3 separate regions of the Homo sapiens genome follow, and all the other regions are linked to region 1. Evidence: promoter capture Hi-C in human tissues and cell types (Jung and others, 2019). All regions are on one chromosome and are shown on one strand. The core of a region is centred on a gene start or on the middle of the fragment in contact, and the rest is flanking DNA. Distances in the headings are between cores, read along the strand shown.

What was found. The method cuts DNA at HindIII sites, captures the fragments that hold promoters and counts their contacts. A contact is called where the count stands out against the background at its distance.
Region 2: a fragment that was not itself captured here is called in contact with the fragment with the promoter of KCNK9 in region 1 in 3 of the 25 tissues and cell types used here (IMR-90 fibroblasts, dorsolateral prefrontal cortex and mesendoderm cells).
Region 3: a fragment that was not itself captured here is called in contact with the fragment with the promoter of KCNK9 in region 1 in 3 of the 25 tissues and cell types used here (adrenal gland, bladder and spleen).

The regions. Positions count from the first base shown.
Region 1 is chr8:139,701,375-139,704,885 of GRCh38, reverse strand. It overlaps KCNK9 (potassium two pore domain channel subfamily K member 9), which reads left to right and starts at 1,763. Exons shown (of 2, transcript NM_001282534.2): 1 at 1,763-2,176. The coding sequence starts at 1,894. RefSeq lists a silencer at 1,746-2,040. The HindIII fragment of the contact is 18,854 bases long and covers 1-3,511 here.
Region 2 is chr8:139,834,605-139,838,200 of GRCh38, reverse strand. The region is part of intron 21 of TRAPPC9 (trafficking protein particle complex subunit 9); the gene reads left to right. Among named protein-coding and RNA genes, the nearest start is that of C8orf17, 95 kb to the left of the region's middle. RefSeq lists an enhancer at 1-138. The HindIII fragment of the contact is 8,586 bases long and covers 1-3,596 here.
Region 3 is chr8:139,953,091-139,956,955 of GRCh38, reverse strand. All of the region lies in intron 19 of TRAPPC9 (trafficking protein particle complex subunit 9), which reads left to right. Among named protein-coding and RNA genes, the nearest start is that of C8orf17, 24 kb to the right of the region's middle. RefSeq lists a silencer at 3,526-3,692. The HindIII fragment of the contact is 4,280 bases long and covers 1-3,835 here.

The sequences.
Region 1 (3,511 bases), core at 514-3,013:
ACTGGGTCGGGGGATTGCGATGTCTTTCCCCGCTGTCCTGACTCCAAAAGTGGCGGCCCATGCTGTCCTTAGCGCTCTCCAGGGAAACGACTCGGGTCTGCAGGTGCTGGCCCAAGCGGGCTGTGCCGCTGGGAGGCGAGGGGGCCGAGGCAGCCCTCGGGACCCCACCACTCCACGAGGCCATGTCCCTGGCCAATGACACGCTCCCGCGCCGGGTGGCTAGGTGGGGGGTGGGGGGTGGGGAAGACTTCGTGAACCGCTGCTGCCGCTCTCCTGTGTGCCCATGGCCCCCTCCCCTTCTGCTCCCCACTCTCTGCCCAATCTGCCTGAAGCTGTCAGCCTGCCATCTCTGGCTGAATCCCGTTTTCCTCCTCCAACCCCGAGTCCCTCAAACTCTCCACCCGCCAGGGCTGCTTGCGCTCTTGGGGAGCGGGGCTAGAAGGACCCAAGAAGCCGCGTTTATCCTCCCATCCCCCGCCAAAACCCGCCGGCGGCTCCGCCCCCGCCCCCTCCCTGGCGGCTCAGGCCGCCCCTCCCGGGCTCCCTCCGCGTGCGCCCTGCGCCGCGCTGGGTCTGCAGCGGGAGCTGCCACAGCAGCCTCGCCAGCTGGCTGGGGACCAGGCGGGAGGTGGCGCGCCCTGGAGGCTGCGGGAGGGAGGGAGGGAGGGAGGCCCGGCCTCGGCGTAGCCCGGCCCCCGCTCCCCGAGGCCCTCCCGCCGGAGCGGGGCTGCCAAGCGCACACACACACACACACACACACGCACATACACACGCGCACACACACATTCGGGCTCCCAACGGCGCGCACGCACGTAGCGCCCGGGGCAGACCAGCGCGGCGGCCGCCTCCCGGGACGCCCGGACGCCGGAGGGCCCCGACCCCCGCGCGGCTCATGCGCCCGCGTCCGCCCCGCTGCTCCGCGAGGCCCGCGGGACCCCTCCCGCCGCCGCCGCCGCGCCCGCCGCCCCCGGAGGAGCGGGCTGGCCGACCGCCACCGCGCCGTCCCCCGGCCGCCCCCGAAGCCGCTCCATCGCGGTCCCTGCCGTCCTGGGGCCGCGCCCCGCTCCCGCGCCTTGGGGGTTGAGCCGAGCAAACTTCGCGCACCGGCCGACGCCCGGCGGGGACCCCGCTGCGCACCCGCGCGCCCGGGTGGGCGCTGGGCGCGCGGACCTTTGGGGAGCGGGCTGCCCCTCCCGCTGCACCTGCTCGGCCCCCTCCCCGCTTGCAGGGGACTCCAGAGACACCGCCACTTCGCAAACTTTTCCTCCCCACCACCGAGAGGGGGCGAGGAGGGGTAAAAGGGGAAGCAGGTTCCGCTGGGCGCGCGGACCTGCAGGCTCCTTGCTGGGCACCGCCACCCGCGAGCTGGACCCACAGGGGTACCGGGCCCCGCGGCCGCCCTCCGGCCGCTTTCTGGCTCCGGTTCCCGTCCCTGCGTTTCCCGCGGGAGCGGGGGGCGGGGTGCGGAGGGCAGCAAGGCCCGCGCGGTACCCAGCGGGGCCGCCCTGCATGGCCCTGCGCAGTGGGGCGGGCTGCTTCGGCCGGGTCTGGCGCAGGGTGTCGGGGTTCCCGGACGCCTGGCCCCGGCGCTCGAGCAGCCTCCTGTGCCTGTCCGCCTTCTCGGCTGAGCCCGGGCCCGCGCCGCCCCTGCCCCGCCAGCCGCCTCGCGGTGGCGGTGGCTGTGGCGGCCCCAGCGGAGGGGGCCCCCCCCAGCCTCCCCGCCCCCCGCCTCCCCGCTGCTGCTGCTGCTGCTGCCGCCGCCGCTTACAACTTGGAGGCGGCGGCGGCGGCGGCGGAGGAGGAGGCGGCGGCGGCCGCCGGGCGCTGCAGTGGGACGCGCGCGGCTGTGAGCCTGCGGGACATGCCCCCCGCGCCGGCTCCTTGCTGGCGGCCATGAAGAGGCAGAACGTGCGGACTCTGTCCCTCATCGTCTGCACCTTCACCTACCTGCTGGTGGGCGCCGCCGTGTTCGACGCCCTCGAGTCGGACCACGAGATGCGCGAGGAGGAGAAACTCAAAGCCGAGGAGATCCGGATCAAGGGGAAGTACAACATCAGCAGCGAGGACTACCGGCAGCTGGAGCTGGTGATCCTGCAGTCGGAACCGCACCGCGCCGGCGTCCAGTGGAAATTCGCCGGCTCCTTCTACTTTGCGATCACGGTCATCACCACCATAGGTAAGGGCTGGGCGCGCCGCTGGGCTCCCGCGCCCCGGGAGGAGTCCGGGGAGGCGGCTGAGCGCGCCGCGCCGGGCTGGGTGCAGGGCGTCGAGGGTTAAACGCAGCCTCCCTTGGGGGCCTTCCCGCAGCGCCCCCTCCTCTCTAGGGAGCCCCCCCTCCGCGGCGCCTCCGAGCCTCACCCTTCGGGGACCCCACCCGGTGCTCTCCACCGCGCTGGTGTCTGGGCCGGGCGTGCGAGCCCCGAGCGAGTGTGCCTGAGCCGGGAGGGCGGAGGCGCCACTTTTGCGAAGAGAGTGGAGCGCTAAGAATAATCCCATAGCAGACACCCACCCACCCACCGCCCCGGCGCGGGCTGGGCTGCGCGGGGCTCTGAGCCTTACACTTACTACCTCTCTGGGAGTTGGAGAGGGCTGGCCTGGCACCCATGGCTCCTAGAGGGACTCAGGTGGCAGGGGAGTGCGCCTGGGGCGTGAGAGGCACTGACCCTCCGTAGCCCCTGGGCCCCGCTCCAGGCTTCTCTGAGCTCAGATTTCATCTCTCTTCCCCCCGCCCGGCTCCTTTTTTCCCCTGAGTTCCAGTTCTGGAGCTTGGACTTCCCAGGCCCCTGGGAGGAGAGAGTTTGCTCTCTGGTGCTTGCGTTGGGGGTGGCAGCCCCTCAATTGCTCTCAGTAGAGGTGGAGAGTGGGGGCAGGGCAGAACCTGCCCACTCCCTAGGCTGTGACACTGGGAAAGGCCAGTCTAGACATTGCCCAGAAACCAGGGAACTTGAGCCCCAGTCACGAGAGGGGGTCCAGCTGGTAAACTGCAGGGATGCCCGCCAGCCCCACTGCCAAGGGCGCTATTCACAGAGCAGGGTCTCTGGTCGGTCCCGAGGGCAGTGTCCCCTCTAAGGCTGGGGGCTGGGAGGACTCCCGGACGTTATACTTGGAGACCTGTGGGAGCTGGGGCAGGTACCTTCATTCGGGTGGACGTGGTGGATACCCTGCATGGCAGGAGGCAGGGTGGTGTCTCTGTGGTTCACTTGCCCCAGTGAGGCAGGCTGCCTCTCTAGGGCCATCTCCTTGGACTTGCCAAGGCCAGTGTGTTAGTGGGGGTGGTCTGTTTCCTGCACCCCTCAGGGCTTCACACCCCTGTGCCCTGGGCAGGGACCTCCTCCTTCCCCCCTCCCTTCTTCCCAGCTCCTCCTGTCTCGCTTCTCTGGACCTCCTCCTCTAATTTCCCTCTTGATATTTTTCTTTGTCTGGAAATCTCTGCATACTGAAAAAAAAAGGATTTCTCAGTGCCATATGCAACAGGAAGCGCCAGCACAGGACGGCCTGTCTTTCCTTCTTG
Region 2 (3,596 bases), core at 997-3,496, 130 kb before region 1:
ATGAGGAAGAGCTATCCAGTCACAAGAAGAGGCAAGTCACGGATGGAGAGCGGTGCATCCAGGGGTTTGGGGCTGTGGCTGTGGGGAACTGGGAGAATTCCACAAAGAGAGAGAAGAGTCCTGGTGTGGAGGCCTGTGGGTGCAGCGAGCCCTTTAGACTCTGTCCTGGAAGCAGGGGCGTCGAAGGCTTTGGGTGGTGTGATCAGATGTGCAGTGTGGAAGGAGCCTGCAGCCTGGGCCAGAAGAGGGGACAACATGGTTAGAGATGGGCGAGCTGTGAGAAGACAGTGTAGCCACCGGGCCAGGAGCTCCTGCTGGCCTGAACTGCCATGCCAGCCCTGTGGACAGACAGACATGGGCCGACTGGATGGACTCTGGAAGGAGAATCTCGGTGGCAAGTGAGAAGCGGGGAGCACAGAGGAGGGCCGAGGGGCTCCTGGCATCTGGGTTGGGTGCCTGGAAGGACGAGAGACCAGGGGTGTGGGGAAATGGCAGGGGACAGCCACGTGGGTGTGCCAAAGATGTGCGTGGACAGAGCTAGGACTCAGCAGCTCAGAAACGCCTTGGGCTGGAGACAGGCCTGCCTTCAGGGGGCCAGTCCCACTCCATGGGTCTCTGCGAGGCCACCCAGTGAGAGCAGACCGAGGCAGTGCAGGCAAGGCCCTCCCTGGGCACGTGAGCCTTCAGGGGGCTGGTGGGGGAGCGTGTTGTTGAGTTCCTGCCATGGCAAGAAGTACCCCTCAGAGTTCCTCTTTGGTCCCATCCAGTTGCTAGCTTTGCCTTGGACAGATGGCTATGGGAGGACAGGGGCCTTTTTGAAGTGCCGTTGGGGGCTGTGGTGGGCTGTCAGGTGGGAGCCGGAAGACCCTGCCCCGTGGCAGCTGTGCACTGGGGGTGGTGCCTCTGGTTACCGTGCTGCCTCGACAGGGTGTCACAGAGTGAAGCACGTCCCCCAGCTGGCGTGAACAGCGGCAGCAGGAGGGCTCTTGCATGTGTGTCACGGTGATGGTAAGAACCGTAGTCCAGCCTTTCTAGGCTTTGCAGATGTATTATCTTGAGCTTTGAAGTTTACCGAGGGTTTCTCTGTTCACTTCCTGGTTTGTTCCCTGAACTAACACCACCGGTGCATAGACTATTAAAACCTAACTGTCACCTGTACAGGTCCTGTTCCTTGTTCCAGGTCTCACAAGCAAGCAGGACTTGAACCCAGATCGCTAGGCCCCAAGTCCTCCTTGTCATTTCCTTTTTTAACAACAACAACGACAAACCCACAGAGACAGAAGGAGCCGTTCACATCAAGCCTTTCTGACCTCCCTGGAGGTGATGGGGTACCATCGTATCTCATTGTTTCTGGCAATGATGGCAAACATCGAGGGTTTATAAAGATCCTATTTTTTAGCTTACAGAATGAAGTATCTCCAATTAGAAGCATCCTCCTGAAAGAGCACTGTTTCTTCCCATGACTAATTGCATGCATGCTGAGATTTTGTGGAGCCTTGGTGTCTGCTCCTGGGAATTCCACAGAATGTCCCAAATGACTCTCGGGAAGCCACGCCCATCTCTCTTCAGTTCTTTTTGGACTTGGGATGAATCGTGTGAGTTTTCAGTCTCCCTCAGTTGCCCCGTGTGGCGGCAGCATCTGCATTGCTGCAGGGGAGCAGTTGGGCTTCATGCAGGCCTGGGCTGGGCCCTACCTCCCTCCCGAACCTTGAGCTTGCTCATGGAAGCTCTTTCTCCTCCAGGTCCCCCCAGCGGCTTCCCATGCACTTGCCCCTGGGGAGAATTGCAGGAAACACACACATCGAGTGCCGGGCGCAGGGTCAGAACCAGGATCGGTCCCGCTCCGGGGTCTGAGATGGAGAGCTGGTTCTTCTTTCAGAACTGCTTCCCTTTACTGGGGTGTGGTGGCTCACGCCTGTAACCCAGCACTTTGGGAGGCCAAGGTGGGTGGATCACCTGAGGTCAGGAATTCGAGACCAGCTTGGCCAACGTGATGAAACCCCGTCTCTACTAAAAATATAAAAATTAGCCAGGTGTGGCGGTGGGTGCCTGTAATTCCAGCTACTCAGGAGGCTGAGGAGGGAGAATCACCTGAACCTGGGAAGTGGAGGCTGCGCTGCGCTGAAATGGTACCACTGCGCTCCAGCCTGGGCGACGGAGTGAGACTCTGTCTCAAAAAAAATAAATAAATAAATAAATGCTTCCCTTTGTGCTACACCCAGCTTTCCTTGGTGGAAAATAGCATTTATGATAGATAGATGGGTAGGTAGATATAGATATATATAACCTGTCCAAACAGCTGGCAAGCTCAGGCCACATCCTCCACTGCTGATTGGGGTGGTGATTCTTGCACTCTCTGCCGTCCTCGGAGCCTCATCCTTTTTGTAACGGATTCTGTGGGCTTTCTAGGGAAGCTTTTTTTTTTTTTGTTTTTTAATCTTCAGCTTTCCCTCTCATGTCTTGGCAAAGCAGTGAGGCCTGGAGTCTCTTCATTTCACTCTGACAGCTCTTATCAATCTCCGCCTTAATTAAAGAAAGCAGATTTGGCAGCAGTGTCTCTTGTCTGCTGTCCTTTGGGACTTGATCGCTTTACAGCAGCAGCACTGATTGGCCTTTCTTGCTGCTTTCCCCACTGTCCCCAGGTTTATTAGTGAGGATGTCTCGTGGATACAAAAATAGATACCTAGATGAATAGATATTAGACATCCATCCGTGCATCCACGCACAGCACGGGCGAACGTGCGCGCCATCACAGTGACACAATGGGGCGCAGGAGGGAAGGCTGGACGGCGGCGAGGATGCTTGCTGCAGAGTCGCAGAGCAGCGGAGCCCCGGAGGACCTGCCAGGTTCCTTGGCTCAGTGACTTCAGAAATTTATTAATCAAAGGCAATGTGTGCACAACGCAGTATGTAAAACACATAAAAAGCATCTCTGTTCTGCTCGAAGTGGGTGAGGAGGTCAGAGGAGCTGGTCAGATGGGGGAGGATTTGAGGGTGCTTTCACCCCTATTGCCTCCAACTCCCCTATTTAAAAACCAGTGCTCTAGTCCAAGGCTCCAAGAGGAGAGGTGATTCACCCAAGGTCGCATTCATTAACAGCGAAAACCCAGTCAACAGAAACCTGCCAACGAGTCTGATGCCCACTCCATGGGGGGCACTTTCACCTTTGAAATCTTCACCTTTGGCATCTGGGCTTCCCTGTCCAGGCGAGTCAGCACCGGCATGAAATAAATCCTCAACAGGTGGGATAGAAATCGCCTATTTAATGACTGCCACGGGGTGGTGGGGAAAACATTGGACTCAGAACCTGGGAGAGCTGGCTCCCAGCAACAGCCCCGCTACTGGGGCAAATGACTTGTTTTCTGAGCTGCGGTTTACATCCTGAAATGCGCCTGATGATGACAGTGCCTGTATCTCTCGGGTGTGAGATCCCTCTCGTGAACTTGGACATGGCAAGGAGGGATGGAAATACCAAGAGCTTTGCAGCCTGCCAGGCAGGACTCCAAGTTCAGGCTACTCTGCCTGTACTCCTGGTAGACCATGGATAAGCCACACTCTCTGGCTTCAACTCCCTCAGCTGTGAGATGGGGCGACAA
Region 3 (3,865 bases), core at 446-2,945, 250 kb before region 1:
CGGTGTCCTCACTGACATCCCATCCCCTCTTCAGCTCCTGAAATCCCATCAGATTTGTGGGTTAACTGAGAGAGAGTGGCTGGGTGTTTTTACCACAGAATTCACCCCTCAGCACGGCCTGAAGGAGGTGCTTGTCCTCCAGGGTGTGGGAGGCCACTCTGTAGGGATAGGGGAGTAGGAGGCATAGGACCTGCCCGGGGTGGCACAACGAGTCTACGCGGAGCCGGGATGGAAGCAGTCTGGCCAGTGCTTCCCCTCTGCATCCACAGGCGCCAGGCTCTGCTGAGCTGAGCAGTGCTGTTCCAGGCACACAGGTCTTTGTTTCTTGTCAATCAGAAGGGCCTGTCCTGATTGGAAACAATTCCTAGGAGGCATTTGCCATGTACGAGACACCGTGGTGGAGGGTGGAGAAATAGGTCAGGCGTAGGCCCAACATCAAGGAGACGCTATGCTGGCAGCTGATGGAGACACATGCCTCAGAAACAACATCCCATGGGCCGGGCGCGGTGGCTCACGCCTGTAATCCCAGCACTTTGGGAGGTTGAGGTGGGCGGATCACAAGGTCAAGAGTTTGAGACCAGCGTGGCAAACATAGTGAAACCCCGTCTCTACTAAAAATACAAAAAATTATCTGGGCGTGGTGGTGGGTGCCTGTAATCCCAGCTACTCAGGAGGCTGAGTCAGGAGAATTGCTTGAATCCGGGGGGCAGAGGTTGCAGTGAGCCGAGATCACACCACTGCACTCCAGCCCAGGCGACAGTGTGAGACTCCATCTCAAAATAAAAGAAAAAAAAAAACGAAACAACATCCCATGTAGGGTGAAATGCACGAAAGAACAAGGTGCTGTGCACACAGGGGTGGGTGTTTCGAACGAGGAGCATCGGAGCTGGTTCTAGGCACAGCCACACTCTCGTCAGGTCTCCGCGTGCTAACCAGCTGCCTCCCTTCCAGCCACACGGCGGGAGAAACGAGGACCCAGACACAGTCTTGAGGGCCAAGATGCATCCATAGTTGAGCATGAGGGAGGGCGGGGCACTGGGGCAGTCATGCTGGATGGCAGCAAGGCAGACCACACCAGGCATCACAGAAGCGCTGCAGAGCTTTCAGTTTCTCTTGGAAAGAAGCCCCTGGGACCTATTTGAGGATTCCTCGACGTTAGTGGACACAGAATGTTAGCACAGCCCTCACGAACAGGAAACTCAGACTGGGGGTGAGTCTGGTCGGTAGCTGGCTGAAAAAGGTGGATTTCCTATTTCCAGTAGTCCTGACCCACATTCCCACTTTTGCTGTTGTTGTTGTTTTCCAGTTAGATACTTTTCATCTCCTTCCAATTGTGCAGTTCTCGAGGAATCCTGCATTGCCTGTTTCTGGACTGGCTGCCTGGGAGGGAGCCTAAATCCCTTCCTGTCTTAGAGCATTTGCATCAGTGGGGTTGGAGCCTTTCTCAGTTTTGATAAGTAGGAGCTGTTTAATGTTGTATTTGCTTCACGTGTTGATGCTGAACGTGGGCGCTTGAAACCAAGTTTGCTCTTGGATCCATCTCGGAGGAGCCCCTGGGTCCGTCCAGGGTTTTTTTGCAGTGTGTGCGGCTGGTGCTGTGTGTCACAGCATGCAAAGAACCCACACGGAGATGATCAGGCTCCTGAACTGAACCTCAAGAACCCAGTGAACAAGACCTACATGAGGCTCCTACAGGATCCCTTCTGGCCCTGATCATTCCTTCATCACTGTTACCAGAAACGGGGAGGTGAGGGTAGGAGGTGGTCAGATGGTGCCGATGGCTGGTGCAGCTGGTGGCAGAGGCTTTGAAATCCGACCCCTTTCACAAGAAAAAATGTGCTTGATCCCTACCATTTATGTAACCAGTACTATAATAAAAACATTAAATATGCATCAACATAAAATTAAATACAGAATCCTTATGCTTATAATACTTAAATCTGTGAAACCGCTTTTCCAAATTATATACATGCCAAATTGTAAGACCAATACAAATAAAATTACCAGATTAACTTGATGAGATGTTTTGGTACAACTAAATTGCCAGTAGAATTGTGAACGTATATGGACAGCTGCAGAGCTGGCTCCTTTTATTTTAACATGCCTGTGTATACAATGGAGTGGATCTGTATTCTCAACATTGGCCTTTATTCAAACCAGGGCAAATCTTCACTGACACGCTGTGATGTCACTTGAGTGTCAAGTGGCGTGAGCACCTCTACCTTTGTTCCTTATTGTTAGCTGGTGGCAGTGAAGGTAATAACACTTGCACAAGCAGCCAAAGACACAAACGCAAACACAGGTCCTGAGATTACCTCGCAGCTTCTTCTTACAAATGGCCATTTAGATGATTTAGAATATGCTTATATTGATTTTTAAAAGCTTGGTCTGCTGGGGCTGCCGTAACAAAGTACCACAGACTGGGTGGGTGGCTTAAACTGCATACAGTTATTTCTCACAGGTCTAGAGGCAAGCTGTCTGGCATCTCTTCTTATAAGGACACTAATCCAATCCTGAGGGCCCACCCTTATGATCACACGTAACCATAGTTACCTCCTAAAGGCTTTACCTCCTAATACCGTCACTTTGAGGGGAAGCGTACAACATATGAATTACTGGGGGACGCAGTCACTCAGTCCATCACAACTGCTTTTTTGAGGTAAAATTGACATACTAAAAACTACACATACGGAAGTGTACACTGTGATCATTTGGGGCATCTGTTTACACCCAAGAAACCATTGCTACAATCTGGACAGTGAGCATATTCATCACCCCCAAAAGCTTCCCTGTGCCCTCATCATCGCTCCCTACCCCTGGCGCAGTCCCCAGGTAACCACCAATCCAATCTACTCCCTGTCGCTGCAGATAACTTTGCACTTTCTAGAGTTCTATTAATATGGGGATGGATCATACAGTACTATTCCTCTTTGATCTGGCTTCTTTCACTCAGGATAATTATTTTGAGGTCTGTCCACACTGTTCAGTGTATCAGTGGTTCTCTACATCGTCTGCAGCATTGGATGTGGTCAGTCTTTTTCATTTTAGCCATTCTAACAGATGTGTAGTGGCATATCATTATGGTTTTAATTTGAATTTCCCTGATCATGAGTAGATATCATTGTATATAGTGATATATTTTTATCATATGAAGCATTTTTATATGTCTGCTTGCCGTCTGTAGATTTTGTTGGTGAAGTATGTGTTCAGGCCCTTTATTTAAATAAAGTTGGGCTGTTTGTTTTGTCACTCTTGCATTTTGAGATCGTCACATACTCTAGATACAGGCTGTTAATCAGATTTATGATTTGCAAGTATTTACTTTCAATCTAGTTTATCTTTTCAAGCGTCACTCAGAGAAGTTTTTAATTTTGATGAAGTCCAATTATCAGTTTGGAGTCATGTCTTCTATGTCTTTTCTAGGAAATTTTTTCCTTTAATGTTTACTTCTACACATTTTTTTTGAGACAGAGTCTTGCTCTGTCACCCAGGCTGGAGTGCAGTGGCACGATCTCGGCTCACTGCAACTCTGCCTCCTGGGTTCAAGCGATTCTCTTGCCTCAGCCTCCTGAGTAGCTGAGATTATAGGTGTGCGCCCCCATGCCTGGCTGATTTTTGCATTTTTAGTAGAGACAGTGTGTCAGCATGTTGACCAGGCTGGTCTTCAACTCCTTGACCTCAAGTGATCCACCTGCCTCGGCCTCCCAAAGTGCTGGGATTACAGGCGTGAGCCGCAACTCCTGGCCTACTTTTACAAGTTTTATAGTTGTAGGTTTTACGTATCTTAAAATGATCCATTTTGTTAGTTGTTGTAGATAGTGCAAGGTGGATCGAAGTGGGTGTTTTTGCATGTAGATAATTGATT